Regions from separate parts of the Homo sapiens genome. Here all the other regions are linked to region 1. Evidence: promoter capture Hi-C in 16 types of primary human blood cells and fetal thymus (Javierre and others, 2016). All regions are on one chromosome and are shown on one strand. Each heading gives the region's core, a stretch centred on a gene start or on the middle of the fragment in contact. The rest is flanking DNA. Distances are from core to core; before and after follow the strand shown.

Region 1 (3,556 bases), core at 308-2,807:
CGAATATGTATTCATATTTTCCTCTCTCCTGCAAGTACAGTTCCATTAGCATAAGGATTCCTTTGAATTATTTTCTCTGTTTGACATTTAAATTAGTGACTGTTGGAAGAAATAAGAATAATCATTGAAATTAGCTTAGGAAATCTGTGAGTGCCCCACCTCACCCTCCAAACACACATACACTCTTGTTTTCTCATTCCAAGATTAAGAAGTTATGCAACCTGACAATGCACTTTTCTCTGACAAGTCTTGACATCACCACTGTTATTTTCTTTTTCACTTTTTTCCTCCAGCACCTGTTAGAAACAAGAGTAGGGTGATCTTCATGTGAATTTGTTCTTTCCTTATTCTTTTAGCAAAAGATAGGGATAAAAGTCTGCAATGGACAGAGATGCTTTAAAATATGCTTGAAATTTTATATTTAAAATAAACCACCTGAAAGTATTTTTAGATTGAAGACCATACACAAAATAAAGGTGTTTTTGCAGTTACTAGACTGGGTTCTTAAAACTTTAATCAATCTATATTCATAATAATATCCTTCAATTTCTTTTTTAGCATTATACAGGAAACTGGTAGATACTGAGATGGATTTTAATGGCTTTATACTGATGAAAATAGCACCACATAAAAGCAGGGGAATATTAGAAATAAAAATAATTGTCTCTAAAGACCCATACAACCCTTTTTCCCATAAAAAAAAAGATGCACTGTAATACATGAAAAGATAAGATCTCTTGTCAAAAGTGTGAGAGAATGTCCGGTGGTTCCAAATGACAGTTACCTCTTGCCCCCCTTCTCTGCCAGAGTTCCTTTTTATCTTTGCAATCTTCCAGTTCTTCCGATCAGCCTGCCTTTAGAGGGCTACAAAGCATTTCTTTCAAGCCACCATAGCTAACACGGTGACATGAGTACTTAATTTGCACGCGGCCGCGCTGCCCCTGGCTTCGCGGAAGCCCTGAGTAGCGCAGCGCCCTCGCCGCACGCAAGGCTGCAGTCCCGCTCCAGGCCAGAGTCCCAGGAGAGCGTCCTCCGCGCTCACAGGCGCCTTTGTCTTCCCGCTTCCCCCTTCCTTTTTCAAAAGCCAAGAGGTAATTATTTGGTCTTTGTGCAAGGCAAACCTCTCCAGATGCCACTTCCAAATATAGGCTCTCATTAACACCAGAGGCTGGCCTGGTGTGGTGCAGGGCGGCCCTTCCTTCTCCTGGCGGACACTGTGTCCCCGCGCGCTGGCGCTGCACCACATCTGGAAGCCAGGCGGGCAGGGCAGAGACCCCGGCTCCTGCGCCCCTCCTAGCTCCCAGAGAGCGTGGATCGCGGGCGGGGCTCACCGAGCGAGGTTACCTCTCTTGAAAATACTTAAACACTTTTTTTCCTCTCCACTGAAATCTCAAAAAACAGCCCATTTTGAACCAGAATAATTTAGTCTGACAACAGATTCTTCCTCTGTTCACAGCTGTCCCAGAGGGAGGAGCTGAAATCTGAACCTCTCAGCTGTGATTGGATCTTTCTTGCAAAAGAGAGGAAAAAAAAACCCTCCCAGCCAAAACGGGCTCAGTTCGTAAAGGAGCCGGGTGACTTCAGAGGCGCCGGCCCGTCCGTCTGCCGCACCTGAGCACGGCCCCTGCCCGAGCCTGGCCCGCCGCGATGCTGTAGGGACCGCCGTGTCCTCCCGCCGGACCGTTATCCGCGCCGGGCGCCCGCCAGACCCGCTGGCAAGATGCCGCGCTCCTTCCTGGTCAAGAAGCATTTCAACGCCTCCAAAAAGCCAAACTACAGCGAACTGGACACACATACAGGTAAAAAGAGAAAAATATATCTAGAACTACGTATCTAGAGCTTTGCAAATATGAATCTACGTATTACCCTTCAAATACCATTACAAAAGAGCCAAAGATTCAACTGTTTTCCTTTTTAACAGTGTCCTGAAAGGGAGCTTACATTCTTTTGATCATTTAGGGTTCGTTTTAATTCAAAACTTTTAAAATTCTTGACTAACAAGGAACATTTCATTCAAATCTCGCAGCTTCGTTTGCTAAAGCCTGTGTATACATGCATAATGAGTATGTGAAAGATGAGCAACATAAGGATTGAATTACTGCGTTTTTCATGCACTAAGTCTCCTTTCCTTTAGAAGGCGGCTTGATGCAGGCATATCTTTGTACTCACGGTCGTAATACACCTAAATAGCCCATACGTAACATGGAAAACAACTTTTCTGTATGTTTAAAAATAATGTTGAGGCTCTCCTTCCTCAATGGGGACGGCGAAGGCACTGGCTTGGCTGCACTGTCTGACTTCAGAGCACCTATAGCTCCGTGCAGCTGTCAGCCTATGTGTGCATTAAGTACAGTAACTCCGTAGGTGCCAGGGTGGAAATGAAACATTTTACCAGTGTGTATGCCCTCCTAAATGGGTCTATCTTCTTCCTAAGAAAATCACGTGTGTGTTGCTAAATATCTTTCCAGTGTGTGTATACTTGCGTGTGGATTTATTTTTAATTATTTTTGCCTTAATCTTCTCTCCCTCCCTTTTCTTTCCCAGTGATTATTTCCCCGTATCTCTATGAGAGTTACTCCATGCCTGTCATACCACAACCAGAGATCCTCAGCTCAGGAGCATACAGCCCCATCACTGTGTGGACTACCGCTGCTCCATTCCACGCCCAGCTACCCAATGGCCTCTCTCCTCTTTCCGGATACTCCTCATCTTTGGGGCGAGTGAGTCCCCCTCCTCCATCTGACACCTCCTCCAAGGACCACAGTGGCTCAGAAAGCCCCATTAGTGATGAAGAGGAAAGACTACAGTCCAAGCTTTCAGACCCCCATGCCATTGAAGCTGAAAAGTTTCAGTGCAATTTATGCAATAAGACCTATTCAACTTTTTCTGGGCTGGCCAAACATAAGCAGCTGCACTGCGATGCCCAGTCTAGAAAATCTTTCAGCTGTAAATACTGTGACAAGGAATATGTGAGCCTGGGCGCCCTGAAGATGCATATTCGGACCCACACATTACCTTGTGTTTGCAAGATCTGCGGCAAGGCGTTTTCCAGACCCTGGTTGCTTCAAGGACACATTAGAACTCACACGGGTAAGAGAAAAACCATAGGCAGGAATGTTACTCTGAGATACAATGAAGCCCTGGGCTGGCTGTTGGATTTGCATGAAGTTGTGACATAGTGCTTTTAATGATGGACAGTCATTGATAGCTACTTCCTGACTACTCAAAAAGTTGTTAGGGCACAAAGTGCTCCATTTCTTGCTAACAACCTCTGCTCCAGGGACTGCAAACAGCATGTAGACTTTGGAAAGTAGATTCAGAAGGTTTGGTCTCAAAGATCAGTTAGAAAATCAGGAAAGATGTGCTTGAATGTGTGTTCTGTGAAACTGCCCCCAGTAATCAGCAAATACAAATGTTGCTATCTTAATCAATTGATTTGGTTAATAGATGAAGGCTTTTCCTACAGTTTTCTGTTAGTTACATTCTTGCTCTGATATTTGTCACCCGTGGGTGACTTGGATAGTTGAAACTAAATTTACTTTGCCTCTCTTGCTTT
Region 2 (3,556 bases), core at 579-3,078, 240 kb after region 1:
TCTATAAAATGCTACATTATTTTGTCATCCAAATATTTGAAAACAAATGTAACCTTTTCTTCTTTAGGTTAAAACAGTCACATTAGCTCAACTTATGTCCAATTCCAATATTCAAATAAATTACCTTACAATTTTCTTTTATCACCTTTTCCAGTTTTTACATATAACTCCTAAAACTTGAAGATTAATATTGGAATCCTGTGGTAGAAAGGGCCTACAACTGTGACACAGAGGTCTGGTAGTAAAGCACTTACCGGAGGCAAATCCATACATGGCTCTCCATCGCTGGACATATGGCCTTCAAGGGTTGTGAGCACTTTCCCCGGAATCACACTTTACAAAGTTCCCACACTTTGTAGGGAACATAGAGGCCTTCCATGTAGAGAAATATACGTATTTATTTATGGTGTTACAAAGAGGCAGTCTTCAAAAGGAAACAGGATTTCAGGTCTTATAATACGTTAGAATCAACTAGTGATTACAAATTGCATTCCTTATTTAACAAACCTTATTAAGCTCCCTGCTCTTCTATGGAAGGTGTGCAGGCCCCCACGTCCCAAGGTCAAGGTGCGTCCGTTGTACTTGAAAGCCTGAGGGTCGCCCCCTCCAGCAGCCTAATCCTAACCAGCGCGAGATGATTACTCATGGCCATCCACAGATGTGCAGCTACTAAAACTTTACCCAGTGATGAACTGCCAGCCTATCCCCAACTTTGTTGTTTACCGTGAGAAGAAACAAAGCAATAAAAAATAGTCTTAAGTGGATCTCCCACACTATTGATAGCCTGAGGCGCTGGGGAACTTTAGGATTAAAGGCTCATTCTTCTAGCATGGTAGAAAAAGAAACAAATAGTAGCTAGAGTAAAGTACTGTCATTTTAATCAACATCTTCAGTACAAGAAAAAAAAATCAGTTCAGGAACTATTTGAAGACGATGTTAATCTTTTGGCTCATGAAAGGAAATATGTGTTCTGTGACTGCTCTGCTGAGAAGGGTGTGTGTGTTATGTTAATATGGTAGAAAAGTATTGCTGCAAAGAGCTAATATAAATTTGCAAGACTTAAGCTTGAAATAATAGATTTCAAATGTCCCTCAAAGAAAAATTCATTAAGAATGAGAAACAAATTTTTCAAGCCATTATTAATTACAAAACAAATGTAGTAACGGTGCTTTCTGTGTGTGTGACCCAAATCAACACGGTGTTTGTAGGTTTTGCACACAATTAGATGTCTTTGCATGCCAGGCCTACAACCCTGTGGGAGAAAACCACAGGTGAGTTGTGAAGACCCAAGACTCTGAGACCCTGGGCCCAGCCTGGGCTGCGTGCTGCCACCCTCTTGCTTCGTCTGCCTGTTGCGCTCATTTGTAAGTAATCGTCTAAATGATTTTATGTATCTTGCTGGCTATAGGTCCTTAAAATGATGCTGAGAAGTGAAGATGAGAGTGAAGATGGTAAAGGAAGCTTCTGGAATAGGAGGGGGCAAGCCCAGAGGAAGAGGTGGAAGGGCAGGTATGCCACCTGAAAACCCCACGGATCCTTCACTTGTCTCCAGACAAAACGAAAACATACAATTCATCAGCAACGCATAGCCCAGAAAGTACTGCTCCTGATCAGATAAGAAGCGTGTTTTGGCTGGGTGCGGTGGCTCAGGCCTGTAATCCCAGCACTTTGGGAGGCCGAGGCAGGTGGATCACCTGAGGTCAGGAGTTCCAGACCAGCCTGGCCAACATAGAGAAACCACGTCTCTACAAAAAATACAAAAATTAGCCAGGTGTGGTGGTGGGTGCCTGTAGTCCCAGCTACTTGGGAGGCTGAGACAGGAGAATCACTTGAACCCAGGAGGCGGAGGTTGCAGTGAGCTGAGATCGCACCACTGCCCTCCAGCCAGGGCAACAAGAGTGATACTCCATCACACACACACACACAAAAACAGAAGCATGTTTCAAGGTATTCAATTTTCTTTAAAAATATTCCAATCTATTATACCCCACCCCAAAAGGGAACTTTGAATTTTACTCCTGATTTATTTTGGATTCAGCATGGTTTCTATGCCCGCCCCAGCCCCAGCCCTCACTATGCCACTGAGGGAAAAGTGTGTCTGTAATGAAAGCAGTGTGTTCAGCCCTCATCCTGTACTTCCTCAGATCTCACCTGAAGCCAAAGCATCCAAGGGCAAGGCTGGAAACCCAAGCTTACTATGTTTAACCCACAAAGTTTGGCTTTTGCCTCTTACTTTTTTATACTGTGGACTCAGCTAGGATTGAAGTGTCCATTTTAACAGCAAATATCTTTCTTTCTTAGTGATTTAAATCAGTTGACTATACCTTGCTTAAATCCAGTTTCTCACAAAATAGAATAAACAGCAAATGGTTTTATGATTGTAGCAAATGATTCTTAGAAATTTTCCCTTTGATAAATATTGTTTCTACCTATGTAGACATAATGTGGCGATTTGGAGAGTGACATTAGCTTAGGATCAAATAGGATTCCATGACTGAGAACAGAAGGGAGATTCTTTCTTTCTTTTCTTTTTTCTTTTCTTTTCTTTTCTTTTCCTTTCTTTCATGGAGTTTTACTTTTGTTGCTCAGGCTGGAGTGCAGTGACATGATCTCGGCTCACTGCAACCTCCACCTCCAAGGTTCAAGCGATTCTCCTGCCTCAGCCTCCCAAGTAGCTGGGATTTCAGGTGCCCGCCACCATGCCCGGCTATCTTTTTGTATTTTTAGTAGAGACAGGGTTTCAACATATTGGCCAGACTGGTCTCAAACTCCTGACCTCAGGTGATCCGCCTGCCTCAGCCTCCCGAAGTGCTGGGATTACAGGCATGAGACACTATGCCCGGACAAAGGAAGATGTTTTCTTAAGTTTCACACTGGCACTTGACCTTTTATGAATTCACGGAGTCTCGGGTCCCAAATAAATTGTTTGGCTCTTTTCCTAGGCTTTGTTAAGACTTCTGAAGTATTATCTTAAGAATCTTCCATCTCTAAAAAAAAATTAAACAAATAAATAAATAAAAATTAGCTAGGAATGGTGGTGCATGACTGTGGTCCCAACTACTCAGGTCACTGAGAGGGGAGTATGGCTTGAGCGAAGGAGGTTGAAGCTGCAGAGAGCTATGATCACACCATTGTACTCCAGCCTAAGCAACAGAGCAAGATCATCTCTAAAAAAAAAAAATTTTTTTCACTTAACAATTCAGGATATCTCTGGCAACACAGTGCATGTCAGTCTATTACAAAAGGAAAATGTGTAGCTGTTACAGGGATGTAACAACAGCGGGGATAATGTAATGATAAAAGGGGGGTGTTGCTAGCACTAGATAAGATGAGACTGCAGGGGGAAGCTTGCCTCCAGCCTCCACTTCCCGCAAGGTCCAGACAGTTTCTGTAGAGTCACAGCCATCCGTGTACCATCTGGAGAACAAGGTGAGCCCTTCTCTCACAGATCACGGGATGTGGCCACTCTCTGGAGACTGATGCTCGTCGCTCTGATTGGTCTTCGGTTTAGGTTAACGCTTATCATAGAAAGAGCATCTGTTGATTTAAATTCCAC
Region 3 (3,556 bases), core at 543-3,042, 230 kb after region 1:
AATCATAAATAAACCCAAGGATGTTCTCTTAGAGACAGATAAACATAGGGTACCGAGGACTCGGTTTTCATTTTGCTTTCCATCTTCGTAGTGACTTTTCAGTGGCTGAGCTCACTGCAAGCTTTTCACGGAGCCTGAGAGCCATGTGCACTCTGGGCCCTGGCGCTCCGCAGGAGCGGCGTTTAGCAGGTTGCAGCATCAGCTCACCTGCTGCTGCAGAGCTCTGCGTCTCCAACAGGCACCTGCACACACAGAGGAGTTGTCATTACCCTTAGTGCTATGCACACAGGCGAGTCTGGGCCTGTTGCGAGTCGCCTCCGGTAATCACAGACCCAGACACATGGTGCGGTGGAGAAGCTGGGGAGACAAGCAGCACCCACACCCTGTGCCTCCCGACCTCCGTCAGGACCCCATGTCCCCACCACTCCCTTCCCCACCCACCCTGCCTGGGCCTGAGTCACAGCCCAGAGTCTGCATGCCAGGTCCAGCACCTACTCCTCTCACTCTGTGGACTTCCGGCCACTCTGCCAGCCACGCCCTCACACAGACATTCCAAGACAAGGGAAAGGGGCTGTGGGGAAGCCTCTGACCTAACATGAAAGCCCCCCCATGGCTTCCAGCCACAGGGAGGGGAGGGCGTGGGGGATGCTGAGATTTCCTCCAATGACCTCTCTGCAGCAGCTCCTTCAAAGGTGCCCTTCTTTTCCAGTTGAAGGCAATGCTTTTTCACTTTTTGCATTCAGGCTGGTTAACAGGCAGCTGTGATCGCTCTTAAGACTGAGGTCCTAGGAGAGTCTGGGAGTGAACTCACTTCCTAGTGGCAATGAGGGAAGACACCTAGTCATCCTGAGCTCTCTACCTGGGCCATGCCTTACCCAGGCTGCTGGCCCACACTCTACCACACAATGTCTTATTTTCGGAGCACAGTGAAGTTCAACTTCCTCCTCTCCATGACTCTACACAGATTGTGACTTCTGCTTCATGGGGGAGTGCAGCATGAGGATTTCTGCTCCACCCATGAGTCTGAAAGCTTTCCACACCCAAGCAAGCCCTGGATGGGGTTCATTTCAGTTCCTGGTCAAAATATGGGGGCCGTTATACTCAACTACCCAGGACGAGGTGCTGGAAGAAAAATTCTCCAGATTGTAAAGTTTAATGTCGAAATATCAAGTAAGGCATTTCTTTTCTTTGCGATCATGCAACAGATCCAAAAGCAAGAGAGTAAACTTCTCATTTCTGTGCAAATCAGTTTTCCAAGGGAAAGAAAAAGAATGATGAATGGAAGATCTGGGAAGCTCAGGGAGTTATTTTACCTCCTGCACTTGATCCATCTGCAAAGTGACACATGGCATCCACTTCCTCAGGAGAAGACAAACCTACAGAGAACACAGAAGTCTCACTTTCCTATGACTAATGTTTACGATGCAAGAACATTTGATCAAAGTAGGCCTACCCAAGAGCTGGAGTAGGCGCTTACCCATAGCTCCCACACGGCCCTACGGAAATCACAGGTGGCTTCAGGTGAGCCCCAGACACCTGGAGCTCCTTATGACTAGTGTGGCAGGTAAGCCTTTGATAAATCCCAGCTCTAAAACCTTGGCAAGGGCCACTTGGCTTTCCAAAATTCTTTTGTGTGTCAAAGCTCCAGCCTGATGCTTCCAAAGGTGCATGCTCCACAGGATTTGTGGCAATTCTCATGGCTGAGCACTTTGCAGCACATTGGCAAGGAGGCGCTCTTCCCCTCCCAAATATGCAGGCCAGAGCATGTGAGCGACAGCTGCCTGGCCTGCCCTCCTTAGCCTGGCAGAGCGGGAAGCCTTGCTCAGGCAGCTCCCCATGGCCGGATGGCCCTCCCTCCCTCCCTTCCAGTTCCTCTTCTACACTGGTGAGATGCATGGGCCTTTATTGCTCTTCTACAAATATAGGGAAAGCGAGGCTATCATCTGCTATGTCCCCAACACTCATCTCTCACATCACACTGGAGGGCAGCATCTCAGCCTCTCTGAGATTACAGACTCTGGTCTCCTACTTGGGATGACGATGTTGATTCTAGAGGAGCAAGTAAGTAATTTTCCGTCAGTACGTTAGGTACTTAGAGCAGTATCAAGTGTTCAGCTATTCTTTGTATCATGCTTAGTATTATTAGTGCAACATGTCTTAAAAGCATTTTCTCCGATACTGTTTTGGTTCCCTTTGACACTTACCCCACTTTTATGCTGTTTTTCCTAGAAAGGCTTAGCTAATTCTTACGTTTGGCCAGTTTAAATAATCTAACTTCCTTTTTATCAGATCTCCTTAAAAGCCATAGCAATTTAACGAAATTTGTTGAAATATATCAACCACCCCGTGAAATAGACACTGCAGAGTTGTCATGGCCCCGCATGTGTCCCTGGTGCAGGTGTGGGTATGTATGTGTGATGATTTTGTTTGTTTTCATGGGATGTTTTGTTTCCAGCTGAGGGGAGGGGCATGAAGGGGTAAACCATCAGGATAGTTTTCCAGCAGTCACTTGTTCTAGAATGGGAACCTGTTCCTGTGAAAGATTCCAAGCTTCACCTCCTATTACCATAAATGGATTATATATTCTTTCTATAGACAGAACAATTAAAGCAAACTACAGGACTCACTGGAGTGGAGGAGATCTGGGAACCCCGCGTATAGCATGGGAACTGAGCAAGCCAGCTTTTCACAGTGATTGATGCTGCATGTTTAACAGTGCCAAGGAGGGCTGGGCCCAGTCTCCTCCTGAATTCATTAGCTGTGTTTGTTTTATACATGGACTACCTGTGTCTTTTTGGCAGGGGATCATAAAGCCAAGTGACAGCAACTGCTCTGCCCAGCCATTGCTTCTGCAGCCAAAGTCAGAGGCGATTCTGCCAGCAGCATAACTGCTGGAGTCCCAAACCTTCCTAACAGGCCAGCAGCCCAACAAGAACCCACACTGAACACCCAGCGGCACCCATGCCACCACAGACCAGTGCGTCCCACCCCACTGGAGAAATCCAATTTTGTAAATACAAGTAGCCCACCAAAAGAAAAAGTTAGGGAGAAAGCTATTTCTCTTTTTTAAAAAAAGAAAACTGGGTACCTGTTTTGCTTAAATTTGACTGCATGCCACACCTGCACAGATGAGCCTGCGCAGGCCTGCTGCAGAGCAGTGACAAGGTGGCACAGGCTGGAGGAGGGGCCGCCCCACCCCAGCTCACAGGGCTTGCCCCACACACACGCAATCCTGGCCCCAGATTACATCTGCAATGGGACTGACCAGGTCTGAGGCAAAGTCTCTGCTCCAGAGACAGGGCTCCCCTTTCTATCTCCTCCAGCAGATCATTATTGGAGTTCATCCACTTTGAACACTATCTATTCATCACCCTACACTTCCTGCACACCGAGCACCTGAGGCATTTTTACTCCCAACACTCACGACCATCCTAATTCATAATCAAGTAGCAAATGTCTTACAAGGAAGCAGAACAGAAAGAAGTGGGTACTGAAAGAACTACTTTGTGTTCATTTCACCTGAATAATTAGACAACCTCCTAGCAAATCTTAAAGT
Region 4 (3,556 bases), core at 647-3,146, 200 kb after region 1:
TGGATGGATGGATGGATGGATGGATGGATGAGTGGATGGATGAGGTGGGTGGATAGGTGAAGTGGGTGATTGGTTATATGGATGGTTGGATGCGTGGGTGGGTGAATGGATGGGTGGGTGGATAGATAGATAGATAGATAGATAGATAGATAGATTGATAGATGCATGGATAGATGGGTGGATGCATGGATGGACAATGGATGGATGGATGGATGGATGGATGATGAACTGGGTTGATGGGTGAGGTGGGTGGGTAAGTGGGTAGATGGATGGATGGATGGGTGAGGTGAGTAGATGGATGGGTGAGGTAGGTAGGTGTGTGGGTAGATGGATGGGTGGATGGATGGATGGATGCATGGATGGATGAGGTGGGTGGATGGGTGAGGTGGGTGGGTGGGTAGATGGATGGGTAGATAAAAAGATGAGTGGGTGGGTGGATGGACGGATGGATGGTGAGGTGAATGTGCGGGTAGGTAGATGGATGGATAGATGGGTGGATGGATGGATTGGATGGATGGATGGATGGATGGATGGATGGATGAATGGATGGATGAGATGGATTGATGGGTGAGGTAGGTGGGTGGGTAGATGGATGAGTGGATGGATGGATGAGGTGAGCAGATGGATGGGTGAGGTAGGTGAATAGATGGATGGGCAGATGAAATGATGAGTGGGTGGATGGGTGGATGGATGAGGTGAATGGCTGTGTAGGTACATGGATGGATAGGTGGGTGGATGGATGGATGGATGGATGGATAGATAGATGATGGATGGTTGGATGGATGGATGGATGGATGGATGAAGTGAATGGGAGGGTGGGTAGATAGATGGATGGATGAGTGGATGGATGGGTGGATGGGGTGGGTGGGTGGATGGATGGATGGATGGATGGATGGATGGATGGATGGATGGAGTGGGTGGGTAGATGGATGGGTGGATGGATGGATGGATGGGTGAGGTGGGTGGATGGGCGAGGTAGGTGGGTGGGTAGATGGATGGGTGGATGGATTAATGGATGAGGTGGATGGATGGTGAGGTGGGTGGGTGGGTCTCAGAAGTGCCTGATGGGGAGCTCTGGATCTCTCCATCTCCTCAGGAGCTATTTCATTCATTTACCTTTATCTTTATACCACATCTTCAATCTCTTCCCTCTCTAGTGAAACCTTCCGATTAGAATTTTATTATTTATTTATTTATTTATTTATTTATTTATTTATTTTTGAGACGGAGTTTTGCTCTTGTTGCCCAGGCTGCAGTGCAATGGCACAATCTCGGCTCACCGCAACCTCCGCCTCCCAGGTTCAAGTGATTCTCCTGCCTCAGCCTCCCGACTAGCTGGGATTAGAGGCATGCGCCACCACGCCCGGATAATTTTATATTTTTTAGTAGAGACGTGGTTTCTCCATGTTGGTCAGGCTGGTCTCGAACTCCCGACCTCAAGTGATCAGCTTGCCTCGGCTTCCTAAAGTGCTGGGATTACAGGCATGAGCCACCATGCCTGGCTCCCATTAGAATTTTAAAAGATTCAAAACTGTCCCATCTGAAAAGCAAAATGAAAGAATGAGAGGAAGAAGGAAAGAAAAGGAGAGAACTTACCTTAATTTCACACTTATTACTTCTGTTTCTTATATAATGGCTTTCCTTCTTAAAACCTAGCTTCTTGAAAGAATTGTCCAGATTTAATATCTAACTACTATCACTTCTTCCTATCTACCCCTGAATCTGCTATTGCAAGGTCACCCTCCCACCTTGTGAATAAATCCCTTGAATGCTCTTGGCTTCTTACCTTACTGAACCACATCCCCCTCACCCTTGGCTCTCAGTACAGCCTTCCTGTTCCAGAGAGTGCCTCGTTCCCAACCAAGGCCCGGCTGTGCCTTGATTGTTCCTCCTGGACTCCCATAGTCTACCATGTGCCTTTCCCTACCACAGCCCATGCAGCCCTGACTGATTCTTGCAAGTTTCTGGCCAGTCTCTGCCACCAGGCTGGAGACTTTTGGAGAGTTGGGTCAATTGGTCTTGCTCATCTTTGTGGCCACATAACCAAGCACTGTGTTTTGAGTGTAGTCATGAGATCTGTGAGTGAAACGCTTGAACACCAGAAGTTCTCGATGCCCACTAACCCTCAGTTATCCTGTCTCTACACTAAGGAGACATACAGAATATTTTGTGGTGTTCTACCTTTTTTGGAAATTTATACTAAATTGAGTACCTTTTTTTACAGAGCCAGATGGAATTTGAAGCTCAAGTATTCAAAGATCCAAATGAATTCAATGATATGTGAATAACTAAATGTCTATATTGTCTCAAGTGAGTAAAAAAGGAGGCACACACATATTGCTTATTTTTTCTACTTAGTTCAGAAAAATGATGTTGAATTGTGTGTTTCAGGGTGAAGATGAGGTTCACTTACATATATCATTTAACATCAGTGTAAGATGCAATTAAAATAGATGGAAGACAAGAAGTCCCTTATTAGATGATGGGTTTGGCAAGACAGTTAACTTTTCTACAGATGTTTTATCACATAGACTATCTGTCGAAGCACATAACTGGCATAAAACCTTTGGGTTCATTAAATGAATAGAGAGATTACATAATTATGAATTGTTAATACAAATATTCTGCATGTCAAAAAGAAGCTGGGTGTACACTGAAAAATCATTGAAACTACTGGATTTCCTTTGAAACAAATAATGAAGATGGCATCAAAAGAATAAGAGTATTCTATTGAGCATTGAAACGCCTTTCTGGTAGGCATTGAGGGAGATCTAGAGAGATGAAAGATACATGGAAATCATATTATATTGAAATATAATATGATTTGCATTATTGTTTGAGGCTTTGGCTAAATAACGTTACTGATTGTAAGCACCTGAAGGCAAGGGTTTTATCCACCACATCTTTGTCTGCCATAGCATTTAGTCCTCTGCATACAATGGGCTGTCCATAATTACTGTAGATTGGACTGAAAATCAAAAAGTACCACAAGATAAATGCAAACTCTTGGTGAGCAGAGGGAGAACATGTACTGAGTTTCTTAGGTTTCATGGCTAATGCATTGGCACAGCTTTCAGTGTATCCCTGCAGTCCTTCCAGATAGTCCCTGCCCCATGCATTGCAGATGGTTGCCAAAGCCCCCCTCTGTCCTGGCACCCAGTGTTCCTCCATCCTGACTCCACGTATTGCCCCCTTGCCACTGCCTGAGTGCACCATAGTGTCCCCATCCCCCCACTGCCTGGAGTTCCCCTTGTGTACCCCCTTATCAGGGCACGACCTAACTGTGCCCTGCTGGCTGTGACCTCCTGAAGACAGACCTGGCTTCTCCCTGCATCCAGTTCCCCAGTATGTGCTGTGGGCATCCTGAGAAGCCTGAAAAAGACAGGGCCAGGTTAGGCTTGGGTGAGCTGCTTTCTGCCTTCTTGGTACACACAGTAAGCAGTGGAGAGGCGTGTTACACCGTATCTGTTCTATCCTCATCTAAATACTGAGAGGCTAGTTGGGATAGTAAATCTTTCTTACTACATATGCATTAAGTTTAAGTAAAATAGAATAT

What was found. Contacts are between HindIII fragments. The CHiCAGO score rates a contact against its expected background, and 5 or more counts as called.
Region 2: a contact is called between a fragment that was not itself captured here and the fragment with the promoter of SNAI2 in region 1, in 1 of 17 cell types (M2 macrophages). The highest score is 5.2, in M2 macrophages.
Region 3: a fragment that was not itself captured here is called in contact with the fragment with the promoter of SNAI2 in region 1 in 3 of 17 cell types (M2 macrophages, M0 macrophages and M1 macrophages); the score reaches 10.1 in M2 macrophages.
Region 4: a fragment that was not itself captured here is called in contact with the fragment with the promoter of SNAI2 in region 1 in 1 of 17 cell types (M2 macrophages); the score reaches 5.2 in M2 macrophages.

The regions. Positions count from the first base shown.
Region 1 is chr8:48,919,430-48,922,985 of GRCh38, reverse strand. SNAI2 (snail family transcriptional repressor 2) reads left to right here and starts at 1,557. Exons shown (of 3, transcript NM_003068.5): 1 at 1,557-1,799; 2 at 2,545-3,090. The coding sequence starts at 1,721. It overlaps LOC107986942 (a long non-coding RNA gene), which reads right to left and starts at 1,429. Exons shown (of 4, transcript XR_001745895.3): 1 at 785-1,429; 2 at 222-296. RefSeq lists an enhancer at 1,367-1,446. The HindIII fragment of the contact is 2,868 bases long and covers 1-2,815 here.
Region 2 is chr8:48,675,574-48,679,129 of GRCh38, reverse strand. All of the region lies in intron 2 of LOC101929268 (a long non-coding RNA gene), which reads right to left. Among named protein-coding and RNA genes, the nearest start is that of LINC02847, 56 kb to the right of the region's middle. The HindIII fragment of the contact is 730 bases long and covers 1,464-2,193 here.
Region 3 is chr8:48,693,244-48,696,799 of GRCh38, reverse strand. LOC101929268 (a long non-coding RNA gene) reads right to left here. Exons shown (of 4, transcript NR_105002.1): 3 at 1,314-1,376; 4 at 1-242. Among named protein-coding and RNA genes, the nearest start is that of CLXN, 40 kb to the left of the region's middle. RefSeq lists an enhancer at 1-376. The HindIII fragment of the contact is 1,520 bases long and covers 1,033-2,552 here.
Region 4 is chr8:48,723,470-48,727,025 of GRCh38, reverse strand. It overlaps CLXN (calaxin), which reads left to right. Exons shown (of 6, transcript NM_024593.4): 6 at 2,225-3,556. The coding sequence ends at 2,284. Among named protein-coding and RNA genes, the nearest start is that of CLXN, 10 kb to the left of the region's middle. The HindIII fragment of the contact is 6,529 bases long and covers 1-3,556 here.